Regions from separate parts of the Homo sapiens genome. Here regions 1, 3 and 4 are each linked to region 2. The links are contacts of gene promoters, found by promoter capture Hi-C in blood cells and fetal thymus (Javierre and others, 2016). All regions are on one chromosome and are shown on one strand. The core of a region is centred on a gene start or on the middle of the fragment in contact, and the rest is flanking DNA. Distances in the headings are between cores, read along the strand shown. Region 1 has its middle 15 kb from the start of PTPN5. Region 2 holds the start of SAA4 (serum amyloid A4, constitutive). Region 3 overlaps PTPN5 (protein tyrosine phosphatase non-receptor type 5). Region 4 overlaps PTPN5 (protein tyrosine phosphatase non-receptor type 5).

Region 1 (2,715 bases), core at 120-2,619, 570 kb after region 2:
GTATTCAAAAATTTTCATGTCAGAATTTCAGAAAGTCACATTAAATTACATTTGTAATAAATGATCATGCTATGCCTGGTTTAAAATCAAGATCACTTTTTCAATTAAGAGATATTGATTTGTGATAAATTGTTAACTGAACCATAGACTTGTAATATTGGCAGGAACCTCAAAATTTCATTTTGCATATCCCACCCACAAGTTCATATACGGGTATGTCTAAACCATCCAATACAACTGAGTTGTCTAAACCAATGGGTTCCAAAACTTCCATCATCAGAAATATTATAACTTAAATAAAAGAGGAGACTCCTAAGTCAGACTTCTGGAATTTTGGTTAAGGAGATCTAGGACAGGACCTGGGAAATGGCATTTTAAAAACTGTACCATGTGATTTCAGTCACAGGGAGGATTGGGAATCCCTGGTCCAGAACATAACTTTCAAATGATCATTACTTCAATTTAAGCTTCACTTAAACTTTGTGCCCATGTTGAAATTGAGATCACTTTTGTAATTTCAGGCCACGTTCTCCAGAAGCAGAATCTGAGGTGGGGATTCATGTGCATGTGATTTACTAAGGAGTGCTCTCAGGGGAAGCCTGTAAGGGAATGGGGAAAGGAGGACAGGGAAGGGGAAGAATCAGGAACACATTCTATGATTTAATGATTTGAAAATGAAACAAACATTTTATTAAATACAGAAATGATGGTATGGTGGAAAAAACATGGGCTTCAGAATTAGATAGACCTGACATTAAAAAATTTAAATTATTAATACTATGTTAGATTGACAAACCATAATTGTATACATTTATGATGTAAAATGTGAAGTTTTAATATAGGTATACAATGTGGCATTAATAAATTAAGCTAATTAACATATCAATCACCTTTCTTGCCTATCATTTTTTAAGGTGAGACATTTGAAATGTACTTATTATGAAATATATTATATAATACATTGTTATTGATTATAGTCAGCCTTCTGTGCAATAGATCTCAAAATCCTTTCCTCTTATGTAATCTGGGTCTTGGTACTCTTTCATCAGCAACTGTTCATTTCCTCCCTCCCCTCTTCCTCAGCATCTGGTAACCATTATTCTACTGTCTACTTCTATGAATTCACATATTTACATTTCACTTATAAGGAAATCGTGAGGTATTTGTCTTTCTGTGCCTGGCTTTTTCACTTACCACAATGTCTTCCAGATTAATCCATGTTGTTGCAAATGACAATATTTCCCCCATTTTAAAGGCTGAATAGTAGTCCATTGAATATGTACACCATATTTCTCTTTATCTGTTGATGGAAACTTAGATCGTTCTCCTACCTTAGCCATTGTGAATAATGCTACAATGAATGTGAGAGTGGAGATACCCCTTCAACATACTGATTTCAGTTTCTTTTTTTGAGACGGAGTCCTGCTCTGTCACCCAGCTTGGAGTGCAGTGGAGCAATCTCAGCTCACTGCAACCTCTGACTCCTGGGTTCAAGTGATTCTTTTCCCTCAGCCTCCCGAGTAGCTGGGCTTACAGGCACCCACCACCACACCAGGCTAATTTTTTTGTATATTTAGTAGAGACAGGGTTTCGCCGTATTGGCCAGGCTGGTCTCGAGCACCTGACCTCAGGTGATCTGGCCACCTCAGCCTCCCAAAGTGTAATTTCAGCTTCTTATTAATATATACCCAGAAAGGAGATTACCGAGTCCTATAGTATTTCTATTTGTAATACTTGGAGAAAACTCCATACTGTTTTTCATAACAGCTGTACTAATTTACATTCCCATCAACAGTATATAAGAGTTCCATTTTTCTCTGAATCCTCTCTAACACTTGATATCTTATCTCTTTGATAAAAGCCATTCTAACAGGTATGGGGGATAGTTCATTGTGGCTTTAATTTGCATTTGCCTAATGATTAGTGATACTGACCTTTTTTCATGTACCTATTGGTCACTCACATGTCTTTTTTTTTTTTTTTTTTTGAGAAATATCTGTTCAGGCGCTTTGCCCATTTAAAAATTGGGTTATTTATTTTTTTTCTTGCTCTTGAATTGAGTTCCTTACATATTTTATAAATTAACCCCTTATCAGATGTATGGTTTGCAAATATTTCTCCCATTCTATGGGTTGTCTCTTCCTTTTGTTAATTGTTTCCTTTGCTATGCAGAAGTTTTTTACTTTGATGCCATCTCATTTGCCTATTTTTCTTTTTGTTTCTTGTGCTCTTGGGATCCTATCCAAGAAATCCTTGCCCAGAAAATTGTCATGAAGCTTTCCCCCTACGTTTTCTTCTAGTAGCTTTTCAGTTTCAGCTTTATAGTTAAGTCTTTTGCCCATTTTGAGTTGATTTTTGTGTATGGTGTAAGATAAAGGTCTAATTTCTTTCTTCTGTGTGTGGATGTGCAGTTTTTCTAATACCATTTATTGAAGAGATGTTCTTTCCCCATTGTGTATTCTTGGCATGCTTGTCAAAAATCAGTTGACTGTAAATGCAAGGGTTATTTCTGGGTTTTCTAGCCTGTCCTACTGGTCAGTGTGTCTGTTGTATGCCAGTACAATGCTGTTTTGATTGCATTGCTTTACATGTTTCGAAATCAGAAAGTGTGATGCCTCCAGCCTTGTTCTTTTTTTTTAATTAATTAATTTATTTTTTTTGAGATGGAGTCTCACTCTGTCGCCCAGGCTGGAGTGCAGTGGCGCAATCTTGGCT
Region 2 (2,700 bases), core at 18-2,517:
CCTGAGAAATCTGCCATCTGTAAATTTCCGCAGTGGGAGATAACCCCCTGGAAGTTTTTATCCTTCTGCACTCTACACCAAGAGTACAGGCTGGGCCCAAAGCATCTTTAACCTCTCGTCTGGAAACCCCAAGGGAGGGTGATAAATCAGACCAGCCTAGAGGAAGAAACAGATACAGAAAACCACACTCCTGCTCTGACCTCTGTGTGGCTTCTCTAAGGAGCACTCACATCCAGTGAGTATGTGGCCCCTGCTCAGAATGAATCCTGGGTATGTGCCCTCCATCCTCCAGAGTTCTTACCTTGGAGAGCCTCCTTGAAAAACGAACGCCAGCTTTCACTGGTGACTCCCATGACCAAGGAGCAGAAAACAATGCCTGTGAAAAGCCTCATTGTGCTGAAGAGAAAGAAAGACAGGGGCAGAGGATCATAAAAAAAAACACAGATCTATGTTTTGAGGACTGAATTTCTTTCCTTTTTTTCTTTCTTTTTTTCCTTTTCTTTCTTTCTCCTTCCTTTCTTTCTTTCCTCCCTTTCTTTCTTTCTTTTTTTTTTCCTATTGCCCAGGCTAAAGTGCAATGATATGATTAAGGCTTACTGCAGCCTCGACCTTCTGGGCTCAAGTGATCCTCCCACCTCAGCCTCCTGAGTATTAAGGACTACAAACGTGCACCATCACACTCAGCTAATTTTTTTTTTTTTTTTTTTGGTAGAGACAAGGTCTTGGTATGTATGTTCGGCCCAGGCTAGTCTCGAACTCCTGGCCTCAAGCAATCTTCCTACCTCAACCTCCCAAAGGATTACAGGCATGAGCCACTGTGCCAGCCAAAGGACTGAATTTGAAAGACTAATTCCCCATTTCCATTTGTTTGTATGAGAATCATAACTGCATGAAAGATTGAAACGGGTTTTAAGAAGAAGCATAAACCCTTAATTCTCAGCCCAGATCTCTAGAAAGAATAAGAGGATTCCAACGTGTTATTTGGTCTGTGGTCAATTTGTCACCCAATACAGCAGACTAAAGTCAATCAAGAAGCATTTCCTGAGTTCCTACTCTCCTCAGCACTGACCCCGTAATGAGGTAGAAAACACAGTTTCTCTCCAATTGAAATTTGACAATTATGTGAGAAAAGGATCTCAAAAGAGTCAAATAAGAGAAATTACTCCTTGGAAGAAACCTCACCTGTGGACCTTTCTCCAGATGAAATTTCAGTAAAGGCAGAGCTGCTGGTATCTTCTGGCCGTGGAGCTATAGTTGGTACCTCTGCTGGCTTTGGCATTAATGGGAGAACGGTTTTAAATCCAACAACCTGCCTTGCCAAAGTCCTTTTTGCTCAATTCTTTGGGTATTTTAAAAATTAACATATTGGGTAATAGTGTTTCCTTATCTAGAAGTAGTTTTCCAAATTGGGTCATCAAGGTATTTATTTTCTGGCAGTTTTTCTTAATTGCCACTTTTCCCTCTTTTTAGTTTCCTGTATCACAGAAGAGTTGTATTTGCAAAATCCAGTGTGGGAAGACAGAGGTCTTTCTCCACTTTCTTCTCTTTGTGTCTTTCCATTCTTAACTGTTTAGTAGGAGGTCTTCCCAAAAAATTGCACATAGATATTATGCTGTAGGAAGTGATCAATATTATTAGCAAAAGAGATGTTTGCTTGTCTCTTGTGACTTCTCTCTAAAGAATGTAAGGACACAGAACAAGCAAGACTTGACTGTACCATTCATGGGATGAGGTAATGATTCTGGGAGAATACAAGGACAGGAATAACACCAGAAGATCAAGGGTGAAGGCCTTTGAGGCATAAAAACTCTTTTTTCATATAAATATGTATTATTCTGCACTTTCTTTTAAACTTACTATTTATTGGAAGTCTTTCCATGTCGGGCTTGTTGCTTTTTTTTTTTTTTTTTTTACAGCTACACAGTATTCCATTGCATGGATGGACCATAATTTATACAATATTAATGGCTGTTTTGACAGTTATTAACCTTTTGATATTACAAATAATGGTGCATTTATTAACCTTGTACATATGTCTCTTGCACATGTACAAATATATCTCTAGGATAAATTCCTACAGAAGAAACTCCATGGTGAAAAAGTATCAGATTTTATAAATTTTTTGTTTGTTTGTTTGAGACAGAGTCTCACTCTGTCCCCCAGGCTGGAGTGCAGTGGCATGATCTCAGCTCACTGCAACCTCCACCTCCGGGGTTCAAGAGATTCCCCTGCCTCGGCCTCTTGAGTAGCTGGGATTATAGGCACATGCCACCACATCAGGCTAATTTTTCTATTTTTAAGAGAGACGGGATTTCGCCATGTTGGCCAGGCTAGTCTCGACCCACTTACCTCAAATGATCTGCCCACCTCGGCTTCCCAAAGTGCTAGGATTACAGGCATGAGCCAACGTCCCTGGCCCTAGATTTTATAAATTTTTATATGTTGCAAATTGCCTTCCATGAGGGCTGTATCAATCTCTACTCCCACCAGAAATGAGTGAAAGAACTTGGTTCCACATTGTCTCTCACACAGTATACTCTCAAACTTTTTGGTCTTTGAAATTGTGAGTAAAATAAAACTCAAAGTAATTTTAATTTACATTTCTCTTATTATGATTTTGGTTTCACATCTTTCCACATGTTTAAGAGCTATTTCTATTTTCTAGGAATTGTGAATTCATACCTTCATATCAAAGTAGTC
Region 3 (2,700 bases), core at 88-2,587, 520 kb after region 2:
TTGGAACTCACAGCAGTTAGATAATTTACCACAGGTCATGCTGTTGGTCAATAGCAGAGCTGGGATTTGAACCCAGCTGCCTGGCCATAGCACCCCAAGGCCTAGCTAGATGGGCTCCATCCTGGTGTCTGAGAATAGTTAGCCTCTACTATTGCTGACCAGTGGGCACCTGGGATGGTACTTCTTTTCTCAACACAATGGCATCGTTACAGAATACTGCCCAGTTAGTGTTCTTAGCACATCCAAATGGTGTTTCGTTTATACTTTAATTATCCATTCTGAAGACTCAAGTAAAAAACTCATCGTACCATCAATGACAATAAATATCTCTAAATGTATTTGAAGTCTTGAATGAAAACAGAACCATCAATTCAACAAAGAAATAAAAATCAACAGAACCTCTACCACTGAGTGTTGACAGCTACCGGTGACATCTCAGCAGTACTACTACAACCAGGTCCATCTTCTGGAGGTTTGTCCATTTGGGCTTCTGCACCTGCCCACAGACCAGCTTAAACCAATATAAGCACCACTCTGGGGAGCTTTGTGAAAACAGGGGCTAGCAGATCAGGGATGAGGCCCATTATGAGGTAAACCTGCTCCTTAAAATGCTTGACACAGCAGGTTCCTGAAGACATGAATCGAGACCCTATTCATGTTCTAGGTCACTTCTTAGAGGAAGCCTTCCCTGACCCACCAAGATAGGGTTGCAAAATGGCTGTACCCTTCCATGGCACCCTAAACTCTTTAGGAGCAGGGACCATGTCTGTCTTGCTTGTCACTGTATCACCAGTGCCTGGCAAGCATGGAGCATGGAGTAGGTGCTCAATAAAATTGAGTGGATAAAAGAATCAGGCTGCCTTTTCAACTGCCCTTGTTGGCTACTGGTCCAAGACCTCATCTGTGGCATGGTAGGAAGGCTATGAAAGCTATGACTTGTTCTTTCCTGCTGGTCAGAGATAGGCGCTGCAGGATTAGGGTGACAAAGCTTTCCTTGATTCAGGCCTCCAGCTCCTTTACTTTAAAAAGTGGCACTCGGGATGGGCAGTGGCCTCTTGCTGAGACCTAGACCTTGTCCTTGGCCCGAAGGAAGGGTCCACTTAATACCCACAATGATACAGAGCAGAGTGCCTAGGGCTGGGTTGGGGACAGGTTGCAAGACATCAGGATCTAAGGTGAAGAGTAGGTCTCAGAATCACCAGCCCAAGAGGCCAGTTGTTCCTACCAAAAGTGCAATGGCCTACTCAGGCCTTCAGCATACTCATGACCTTGCATAAAGCCAGCTAATCATGACACACTGAAATCTCAGGTTGGTAGGGATTGTCATGGCTCCAGCCAGCTGCCCGCAGGAAGGCTCCAGGAGTACTTTGTTCCCAAGAGCAGCGTTGTCCTTAGACCTGGGCCCTGTGCCCCGTCTCTTCTGTCCATGGCACTCCCCATGAGCAGAGAAGTCCATAGGGCTCAGGAGATATACTCAACTAGAGTCTGTTAGCAGCTGGTGTCCATGTTCCCCTTTCCAGGATACACTCTAACTACTAGGACTTCAGGATTTCCTGCCCAAATGGCTTGAAGCCTGCATGGGTCTCTTGCTCAGGTACATCCCTGTGAGGGTAGACACTGTCTCCTGCTTACGCATCTTCAGGTTTGAGGGGTGGCCAAGGAGTAGCTATTAGGGTGGAGTGTGGACCAAGCTTGAACATACAGACTGGCCTGCCCACATGCATGCACGCAAGCAATGGCCCTTGCAGTGCAGGACTGAGCAGGGGTGGTATACTGCGAGGGTCTTTATTGGCAGTCTGACCTTGGTCCCTGCAGGCCTGCCCACGAGTCTGCATGATGATGCTGCTGAGAGCAACACCTGGTGATGTTGCTCTATTCCATGTGCTGGCCCCCACTGGCACCTACTGCTGCTTTATCTACCTCCTTCTTCTACCTTGTACCTCCGCGGCAGCTGCTGGGAGCTAGGACTATGCTGGGCTAGGCCTGTACTGGTGCTGGATGGGGGAAGGAGTGGAGTCCCCAACATTAGCAGTGCCACCTGGTGTCTTGCAAATGTGAACACCTACACATAGAAGAAGAGAGATTGTGAGTTTGAATGTACCAAAGTGTTTGGGTGACTGTGAGCAAATGAAGTGAGCAAGAAAGGAAGAGTGAAAGAGAAGAGGAGGGTGACCACATGAAAAAGGGTGTGTGCATGAGGGAGAAGAAAAATACATGTGTGCACATGTGCACAGGGGTGGGGAAGGCAGTGGGGTAGACACTCACTGCCCCCACAGTACCGGGGAGCTGGGCATGACTGAGAGCCTGAGAAGAGGACAGAGAATGGAGAGGGAGAAAAGGAGTCTGCCTAGTCATTTTCAAGAGTGTGCGTGAAGAAGGGGTACAGTAGTGGGAGAAAGAGAAAGACACCTAAGGAGGGAATGAGAGAGCAAGCACATCACCAGGAAGCATGCAGAGTGGAAGCCGCGGGATGGAGGGATGGAGCTGAGAGAGGTGAGTGTGCAAGAGGAAGGCATGCAGGTGTGTGAGCCTGGAGGTGTGCGTCCGCCCCTGCAGGGCTGTGTGAGACAGAGGCAGGCCACGTGCCCGGGTGACTGTGCGTGGGAACATGCATGTGCATCGGGGAGCATGTGGCTATGACAAGTGAGCACAAACACGAGTGTGCGAGAGCACATGTGGGGGGTGTCCCAGGGGCTGTGA
Region 4 (2,700 bases), core at 187-2,686, 550 kb after region 2:
AACTTTATTAGCTCCAGGGGGTGGTTCAGAATATATTTTGTATTTTAAACCCAGTTTGTCTCTAAGATAATCTTACTATAATCTTATATCAATTTCTTTAATATCAGGCTCTGTACTGAGCCTTGGGGGACACACAGATAACTAAGAGCCAGTCCCTGCCCTCCACCCAGCATTCGGCCTAGTGAGTTGAGTGAGAAATGCATTAAAGGCCCACTGAGGCTGTCTTATGGGAGCACTCAGGAGGGCACAAAAACAGAGTCTGGGAAGCTGCACAGAAGAGACCCGAAGGACAAGCAGGAGTTCACCAGATACAGGGAGGACATTCCAGGCAGGGAACACTGCAGGGCAAAGGCCCGGAGAGGTGAAAGCACAAGGTATGCCAGGCAGACGAGGCAGCTCAGTGTAGCCACAGAGTAGACGTAAGAGGGACTCTTGTCACACAGCAGACGGCTTCATGAATCAGCCTAAGACACACTAACTTTGACTCACAGGCCATTTTTTCTCAGGGGGACAGAGGCAGGTATTGCCATGCTAGTTGGCATTTAGAAATCTGTGTGTGTATTGGGGGTTAGTGGGGAAAACGTGACAACGTGGATGGATCTCAAAAACTATGTCTTTTTTTTTTTTTGGAGATGGAGTCTCGTTCTGTCACCCAGGCTTGAGTGCAGTGGCATGATCTTGGCTCACTGCAACCTCCACCTCCCAGGTTCCAGGGATTCTCCTGCCTCAGCCTCCCGAGTAGCTGGGACTACAGGTGTGTACCACCATGCCCAGCTAATTTTTGTATTTTTAGTAGAGATGGGATTTCACCATGTTGGCTAGGCTGGTCTCGAACTCCTGACCTCAGATGATCCACCCGTCTTGGCCTTCCAAAGTGCTGGGGTTACAGGTATGAGCCACTGCGTCTGGCTTCTTAAAAACTATTTCATGACACAAAAGAGCATGTACTATATGATTCCACTTATATGACGATTAGGAACAGACAAAATCCATCTACAATGATAGAAATTGGAATAATCGTTATCTCTGAACTTTTGCGGGTGATGGAAATCTTCTGAGTCTTGCTCTTGGTGATGGTTATATGAGCTCATGCAGTTGTCAAAATGCACTGAACAGAACACTTAAGATCTATACATTGGACTGCTTGTAAAGTAAACCTGAAGAACATGTGTGAGCATTTTTGGTTGTTATAATGACTGAAGGGTGCTCCAGGCAAATATATAGGAGATGGGGCCAGGGATGCTTTTACATCAAAGAACTCTCCCACCCAAAGGCCAGTAGGTCCCTGTTGAGAAATACGGCTGCAAGCTATGGGGAGCCACAGAAGGATGGAAACACCAGAGACTTGGCCACATCTGTACTTTGGTAAGACAGGGCTCTGTGGTGGTGGGAGTATCTTGGGACAGTGATGTGGCACAGAAGGTGGATATATGATTTTCACTGCCACTCCTAGGCCTCGTATTTGCCTAACTCTTAGCCCACTGGCCTGATGCTGCCCCGAAGGGGCCCCAGGAGGTCCCTCTGAGGTACCTCAGATGCTGACCAGCTAGGGAAGTAGCAGAGGCAGCAGATGGCAGTGGGAAATGGCAATGCCTCACCCCCAGCCTCCCTGCCTCATGATAAGCAGCAAGGATGATAGAAGTGATCATCTTCCTCTGAAGTGGAGTCTCAGTGAAGGGGTCTCCCTGAGTGTCTAGAGTCCCTGGAAGCAGGGCTGAACGCTACTGCTGCTACTATAGGAAAGCACTGTTTTACATCATGGGCTAAAGAAGAACACAGCTGACTTGCGTGAAAATACTCACCTGACCCCTGCCTTCGGAAAGCCTTCTCTGACCTCCGTCCTGGGCAGGTGTCTCTCCTGTGTTCCCACAGCCCTACAGAGCACAGTTACTGCCTAGGTTTAAATTCTGGCTCTGACTCTTGCTGTGCGTACCTGAAATAGAGTTACTCAAGCTCTCTGTTTCCTCACCTGCAAATTGAGGATAACAGAAACCGTCTTCACTGAACTGTCACCAAGATTGAGATAATGTAGTAAGCACTCAGTAAGAGTGAGTGCTTATGATGAGCCTAGAATGCATCAGTACAGACCACTGTTGCCAGGTGACTCCTCTGGCACCTCCACTAGACATTAAGCTCCTTGCGGGCAGGGTCCTTGTGGTCGTGTTGATTGCTGAGGGCCTTGTGTCCACCACAGTGCCTGGTACAGTAAATACTTGCATGCTTGAATCAATTCCACCCACTAAGATCTCTCCTGAGAGCTTTCTTTTTCCACCCACAATGCCTCTAAATCACAACAATTCTTCAGAAACGGAGTCAGACTCATTTGTATTCTGTTCCCTCTTCTCTCTTCTCTGTTACCTCCATGGCCATGCAGAACCCAAACAACATTTAGTTTTTAAATTAACAGCTTCTTCCTGGACTCTCTATTCCTAAGACTTCACTCAGTGGTCTTCATACTGGGCACACAAAAATCCTTTTTAAAAAATGCACCCTGCACCTCTCAAAAAGTGAAACACAGAATGATCATACGATCCAGCAATTCCACTGCGAGGTATATACCCCAAAGAATTGAAAGCGGGGGCTCAAACAGATCCTGGCACACCAATGTTCATAGCCGTATTATTCACAATAGCCAAAAGGTGGAAACAGATGAATGGCCAAACAATGTGGTATATCCATACAATGGAATATATTCAGCTT

The links. Contacts are between HindIII fragments. The CHiCAGO score rates a contact against its expected background, and 5 or more counts as called.
Region 1: a contact is called between a fragment that was not itself captured here and the fragment with the promoter of SAA4 in region 2, in 2 of 17 cell types (activated CD4 T cells and total CD4 T cells). The highest score is 6.9, in activated CD4 T cells.
Region 3: a fragment that was not itself captured here is called in contact with the fragment with the promoter of SAA4 in region 2 in 7 of 17 cell types (naive CD4 T cells, total CD4 T cells, non-activated CD4 T cells and 4 more); the score reaches 11.9 in naive CD4 T cells.
Region 4: a contact is called between a fragment that was not itself captured here and the fragment with the promoter of SAA4 in region 2, in 1 of 17 cell types (total CD4 T cells). The highest score is 5.7, in total CD4 T cells.

The regions. Positions count from the first base shown.
Region 1 is chr11:18,805,047-18,807,761 of GRCh38, forward strand. No RefSeq gene overlaps it. Among named protein-coding and RNA genes, the nearest start is that of PTPN5, 15 kb to the left of the region's middle. The HindIII fragment of the contact is 1,809 bases long and covers 466-2,274 here.
Region 2 is chr11:18,235,535-18,238,234 of GRCh38, forward strand. It overlaps SAA4 (serum amyloid A4, constitutive), which reads right to left and starts at 1,268. Exons shown (of 4, transcript NM_006512.4): 1 at 1,183-1,268; 2 at 302-396. The coding sequence starts at 392. It overlaps SAA2-SAA4 (SAA2-SAA4 readthrough), which reads right to left. Exons shown (of 6, transcript NM_001199744.2): 4 at 302-396. The HindIII fragment of the contact is 10,895 bases long and covers 1-2,700 here.
Region 3 is chr11:18,759,354-18,762,053 of GRCh38, forward strand. The region is part of intron 3 of PTPN5 (protein tyrosine phosphatase non-receptor type 5); the gene reads right to left. Among named protein-coding and RNA genes, the nearest start is that of PTPN5, 31 kb to the right of the region's middle. RefSeq lists enhancers at 2,156-2,656, 2,657-2,700. The HindIII fragment of the contact is 703 bases long and covers 987-1,689 here.
Region 4 is chr11:18,781,617-18,784,316 of GRCh38, forward strand. All of the region lies in intron 1 of PTPN5 (protein tyrosine phosphatase non-receptor type 5), which reads right to left. Among named protein-coding and RNA genes, the nearest start is that of PTPN5, 8.8 kb to the right of the region's middle. The HindIII fragment of the contact is 6,043 bases long and covers 1-2,700 here.